2 separate regions of the Homo sapiens genome follow, and region 1 is linked to region 2. The links are contacts of gene promoters, found by promoter capture Hi-C in blood cells and fetal thymus (Javierre and others, 2016). All regions are on one chromosome and are shown on one strand. Each heading gives the region's core, a stretch centred on a gene start or on the middle of the fragment in contact. The rest is flanking DNA. Distances are from core to core; before and after follow the strand shown. Region 1 overlaps RPP30 (ribonuclease P/MRP subunit p30). Region 2 holds the start of HECTD2 (HECT domain E3 ubiquitin protein ligase 2).

Evidence for each region. Contacts are between HindIII fragments. The CHiCAGO score rates a contact against its expected background, and 5 or more counts as called.
Region 1: a contact is called between a fragment that was not itself captured here and the fragment with the promoter of HECTD2 in region 2, in 1 of 17 cell types (erythroblasts). The highest score is 5.1, in erythroblasts.

The regions. Positions count from the first base shown.
Region 1 is chr10:90,894,581-90,897,348 of GRCh38, reverse strand. RPP30 (ribonuclease P/MRP subunit p30) reads right to left here. Exons shown (of 11, transcript NM_006413.5): 7 at 2,458-2,574; 8 at 1,866-1,895; 9 at 1,432-1,469; 10 at 957-1,036. Among named protein-coding and RNA genes, the nearest start is that of RPP30, 24 kb to the right of the region's middle. The HindIII fragment of the contact is 428 bases long and covers 1,210-1,637 here.
Region 2 is chr10:91,408,997-91,411,696 of GRCh38, reverse strand. It overlaps HECTD2 (HECT domain E3 ubiquitin protein ligase 2), which reads right to left and starts at 1,353. Exons shown (of 21, transcript NM_182765.6): 1 at 1,121-1,353. The coding sequence starts at 1,258. All of the region lies in intron 3 of HECTD2-AS1 (HECTD2 antisense RNA 1), which reads left to right. RefSeq lists a silencer at 997-1,586 and an enhancer at 1,737-1,946. The HindIII fragment of the contact is 4,522 bases long and covers 506-2,700 here.

The DNA.
Region 1 (2,768 bases), core at 174-2,673, 510 kb after region 2:
TAACCTAGCTATTCATATGACAAATAACTCAGTCTATATGTAGCAATCTACTTTGAAGTTTAAAATTCACTTGGGTGATATCAATGAAATTGCTTCTTAACCACTACAACTAGTCCTAAGAATTATAAAGATAACGAAGACAAAACAGTGATCAAAAGCTTAAATTGTTTTAATAAAATTTCACTTTCATTTTCCAAAGTTTCAGCATACTTTCAATTTTTAACATCTGATGAGCAGGAAACTCAGTCAGTGAAAAGGTACATATACAAAATGTGAGTAAAAAATGTACAGTCTGGCCGGGCATGGTGGCTCATGTCTGTAATCCTAGCACTTTGGGAGGCTGAGGTAGGAGGATTGCTTGAGCCCAGGAGTTCAAGACCAGCCTGGGCAACATAGTGAGACTCTGTCTCTATTTAGAAAAAGAAAAAAAAATAAAAAAGGTACAGTCTGGACACAACTTGACCATGTAAGCAAACATGAGAAAAGAAACATTCTGAGTTATAATAAATGTAAAAGTTACAGTCTATGTTTTGTTAGTTGGATTTTTAAAAATGTATTTGCTGGTTTTGTTTTCCTAATAAATAGTTTAACACATATTTTTAACATATCCGTTCTCTAAAACAGAGATTTTCAACAGGGAAAGCATGGCCTTCTGGTGAGGGAGAAGAAGGAAGGGAGATTAGAAGCCTATCAAAATGTCGGCAGGAGCACACATGTATAGCTGGAAGAACTATTCAATACTTATTTCTGTAATGAAAACTATATTCATTCTACAAACTTTAGAAAGTAAAGCCTGAAGTGAGGGTGAGAAAACACTGATGACTGTGTTTAGAACAGGTTGAGAAAAGATGATCCCAAAGGAACTCTGTAGGGTAGGGCAATAAAAATAGGTATGGCTGTAAAAATGACTTGCTTTTAACATGACCATTCAGTTTGTACTGGAAGAACTTGCTTACCTCCATGGAGAAGCGCTGCTCGGCAGTTGGTGGACACCGCAGCCTTGGCGTCACTTTCAGAGAGCCCAAACAGCAAGCCTCTTGGGGGAGCATTAAAGATTTCAACCCAGAGTCACCCAAGGACACGAGACTAACACAAACATAACAGAAAGTGCCAGCTAACCTGGTCATCTTGAGAGGCTAATTAATTCAACAGCAGTTCTTAGTCCAACTGGAACATGCATCTGAGAAAAGACTCATTTAACTCTAAGCTTTTATCATATGAAGTCCCTCATTCCCTCTTTTCTATCTCATGATTAATTAAAAAACAGAAGCATAAAGCTCTCTATAATGTTATATAATTTATTTTTGAAGTTATTAATTGGTAAACTTACAGTAAAAGGTTGAGAAAAATACATGTTCAACTATAATACGACTTCAAATTCAAAATTTCCTGAAAGACAATGTCAACAACTTTTTACTCAGAAAAGGATACAGATTTGCCACGTCATATGGCCCTCTTATTTCTAAAGGCTGAAATAAAATGAACAAAGAGTAGATATGAGAAAATTATTTATAACATTTCAATGACTTATAGCAAATTAATAGAAAATTTAAGTATCCAAAAATAAAAAAATTACATAAATTTAAGTCCTTATAATTTTGATGGGTTTCATAGCTTTTGAAAATATAAGAGAAGCTTGAAAGGCATTTTGTAACAGTATAAAAGAAAAACTGATTATATAAACAAAAGTTGAAGCCTAAAGAAAGTGGGGATAAATTTTACTATTTAGCAATTACAATGAGCAAATGCAGTTAAAATAGAAAAAAATGCAACAAATATTCATTTACTATTTTAATTTATCCCCTAGAAACTGAAAAGTTTTATAACCTGAAAGATGAAAACAAAGTACTTCATGCTAGACTTACCCTTTCTGCAGCACTAGATATAATTACATTCTACAAAATAGAAAGTGACTAATATTAATCTTAGATAAATGTAAAAAAAGGAGTTTCATAATATAAATAGCCAGTAATCATATTTTAACATTTAAGGCTCAAATACCAACTTCTTTTAAAGATAAGGTAAATAATTAAGGTGAAAAAAATGAAAAGACTTCATGTCAAACTAAAGGCAATCTGTAATAAAAAACAAAATATGTTTTCCTAACAGATCTTAGTAAAGGTGAATTAAGTTTAAAAAACAAGATGAAAAGGTCACATATCTTAATTCAACTCAGTGAGGACCATTGTTATTCTAGACTTTTCTTTCACAGTATGTAAATTGCAAATTTTTATCAAAAGATATGGCTTCCAACACATCTTTTTCTCCCTTACATTATTCTTCCCTTGGTATTTTTCTTTCCCTTAAAATTTGCAGAGCTCACTGAAATGGCAGAATTTGTTCCTATGCTATGAGAACATTCTGCTTTAAGGAAAAGGAGTCAGTTTGACAATTCCAGTGTACTACTAATAATAAACTGCCAGATGCGAAAAACATCCTAAAATTATAGAACCATACCTTTCCTTTGCAGATTTGCATCAAATTGAGGGCACTGGAAATTGTATACCTTCTCATTGTGGAGTCTTTGATAGCAGGGCTATAGACAAGTTCAAAAGCCAGGCCTCGGTCAATCGCCTTCACAGGAAATAAAGAGAACTGTCAGAGATAAGCATGCACTGGCCTACTTCATTTTCACTGATTCTCTCTTCACATCCCTCCTCACTCCCTACTACTGACCCCTTACATGTCAAGGTACAGCTTTATGAAAGACAGATCAACACTCAAATGGCACCACCCACAAGGAGAAGAAAATAAATCCGTGGCTCTAC
Region 2 (2,700 bases), core at 104-2,603:
CTGCATTGATTTAAAGAGCTTGTTTTAACAATTTCCAGTTATCAGGGCCCTCAGACATTTTTGAAAAACCTACCGAATCCGAAAATTATTCCTAACACCAATACAGTACTTAACGAAGAGTGAGCTATTTTAGTAAGTTCTTAGTCATTTAAGAGGGAGGTTTTAAGAAATGAACCGCAAGTAGGAATAAAGAAAATGTATAATGTTCACTAAACTTTTACTATTTTGTCACACACAGCTGCATGACAAGTCATGATCTTTAAATATATCAAAGCAAACTTTCAAAAAGTACTTAAATATTATGTCAAAATAAAAAATTGCAAAATCCGAGGTTTTTTTTTAAATTGTGCTTCAAATTAACCAGTCACAACCACCAGTAAAAATAGGGAAAGAGGGGGAGGGGGCTGTCCCATGACATCATCTGGCAATATGTAGTTTGAAGCCTGACAGCGCTCTCCAAATAACCCTTACGAAGATACAGCTGGGAAATCATCCCTGTCAAGCTTAGATAACTTGGGTTTAAATAAAAGGTTCAAAAAGCCTCCCCCCACCTGAGTCACATGTCTGTACCATATGAAAAATAAAACCATCACTGATGCATCTACCTCCCACTACACTGACAGCAACGGAAAGGTCACAATTAAGTGGAAACTCGCCGCAGAGCCTGTTTAATCTGAAGGGGGAAGGGAAAGAAAAGCGAAGAAAAGGACAAAAATCTGCGCGCCTCCAAGGCAGGCAGGCAGGCAGGCACCTCCGTGGAAAACCCACTCCCGCCTGCTGACACCTATGCTCATCCAACAGATCATGCCGACTCAAGATGCAGGTCATTCTCTTAGAGAAAGTGGGGGCCCAAGCCCCAGAAAATAACCCAAACATCCAGCGGAACCGACCACCCCCAACATTTCCCGAGGGTGGTAGGTGTACCTCGCGAAGTGTTCGGGGCTGTCCACGAGGCACAACTCTTTTATTTCTGCCCAAGGAAGGGCGGCCTGAGTGCGTCTCCCTGGAGTGCCAGGGCGTGCCCAGGGTAAACGCAGGCCTCCTGACGGCCCTCGCCCGGCCGCCGTCCCTCCCAACTCCCGCCGTCCGGGGCGCCAGACGGCCCCGGCCCACCACCTACCGCGGTCGCGCCGGCGCCCGCCGATACGATGGGCGGCAGCTTCTCGCGCTCTGACTCCTTCCCTTTCCTCTCCTCAGGCGCGGGCGCCGCCACCACCAGCGGAGTGGCGGGCGAGGGTACCCGAACCGCCTCACTCATGTCGGGCCGGGCGGCGGGAGCGCCAGGCGGCGGCGGCGGCCTCAGTGTTGCTGGGGCTGGCGCTGCTGCTGCCGCCGCGGCCGCGAGAGGGCTCTGGGCTGCCGCTTCTAGCCGCCGCTGCCGCCGCCACTCCGCCCCCGCCCGCGCCCGCGCCTTTGCGCGCGAGCCCGAGGCCGCCCCCGCGCGCGCCAGCCCCGCGGACGCGGCTCCCCACAGGTCCCACAGGTTTCTTGCTCTCGCCTCCCCCGCCCGCCCGGGGCTCGCGCGTCGCGGGTCGGGAGCGCCGGCGGTAGTCCCCCTCGTCAACCCCGAGGGCCCGGAGAGAAGGCGCCACGGTCGACGCCCGACCGCCATATTGTTTGCAGAGTGTCGCCCGAGATGACGAGGAGACCCCGCACCCGGGCCGCGCAGGAGAACCTGGACTAAGGACGGGCAGTCGGGGAGACAAGTCGAGCCCTGCAAAGGGTCGGACGGGGATAGAGTGTCCGAGTGGTACCAGTAGGGCAGGACGTAGGCACAGACTACCCTTCACGGACGGCCCTGGCCTGCGGCGCCGAGTCCCGCGGGCAAGCGCCCTCGGGGTCTGGGCTGGTGGCCTTTCGCCTTCTTCCAGGCGCCCACAAAGCTGTCCGCCTTGGGGCTTCTGCCTTCTTATCCTTGCCCGCCCTCCTGAGCCCAGGAGAGGCGGCCCGGAGCTTGCGCAGCCCGGGGAGACAGCCTTCCTGGCTCAGCAACCGACTCTTTTGTACACGCCTGGATGGCTTCAGCCTACACAGGAAAAGCCTGGAGGTGGGGAGGAGTGCGACGTGGTGGGCCCCCCCTTTCCCCTTCCCCCATAGGATTGGACGGCCAGTCCACACTTTCCATTCCTGTTCCTCTCGTCCCTCTTTGACTGCCAAATCCGCCTCTCCCTTCCCGTCCCCACGCGCCTACGTTTTGCTCTCTCCCCGCAACCCTTTGCTGTCTCCTATCCGTCCCTTCCTTGTTCCTTTCCGTTTATGTTAGAGATGTACATACCCAAACTCTGCTGCACAGTCCTCAATCAAATCATTACAAATAGGAGTAAAAACTTGAAAGCCGAAGAAGAGAGCTTTTAATTATGAAATTAAAATACCCCCCACCTCCACCACCAGGACACCTAGACAATTTCCTTTCCTTTCTTGTCGCCCCCTCCTTTTCCTTTTTCTCAGTCTACTGGAGCGGCGGGGACACCTGCTGATCTAGGAGAAAAGAGAGTAAGAATGCGCTGTATCGCCTGTTAAAAGCAAGGAATTTCGATATTCAGCTCTATCAGATTTTTTATCTGTGCCTTCATTATTTTATTGGAGGTTGAGTGAATTTTTAGATCAAGAGTACCTAAGTCCAAATATAAGAACCAAAAATATCTCTGAAACAAACCCAAATATGATTTCGGGGTATCTATTGTTTACATAATTTGGAGT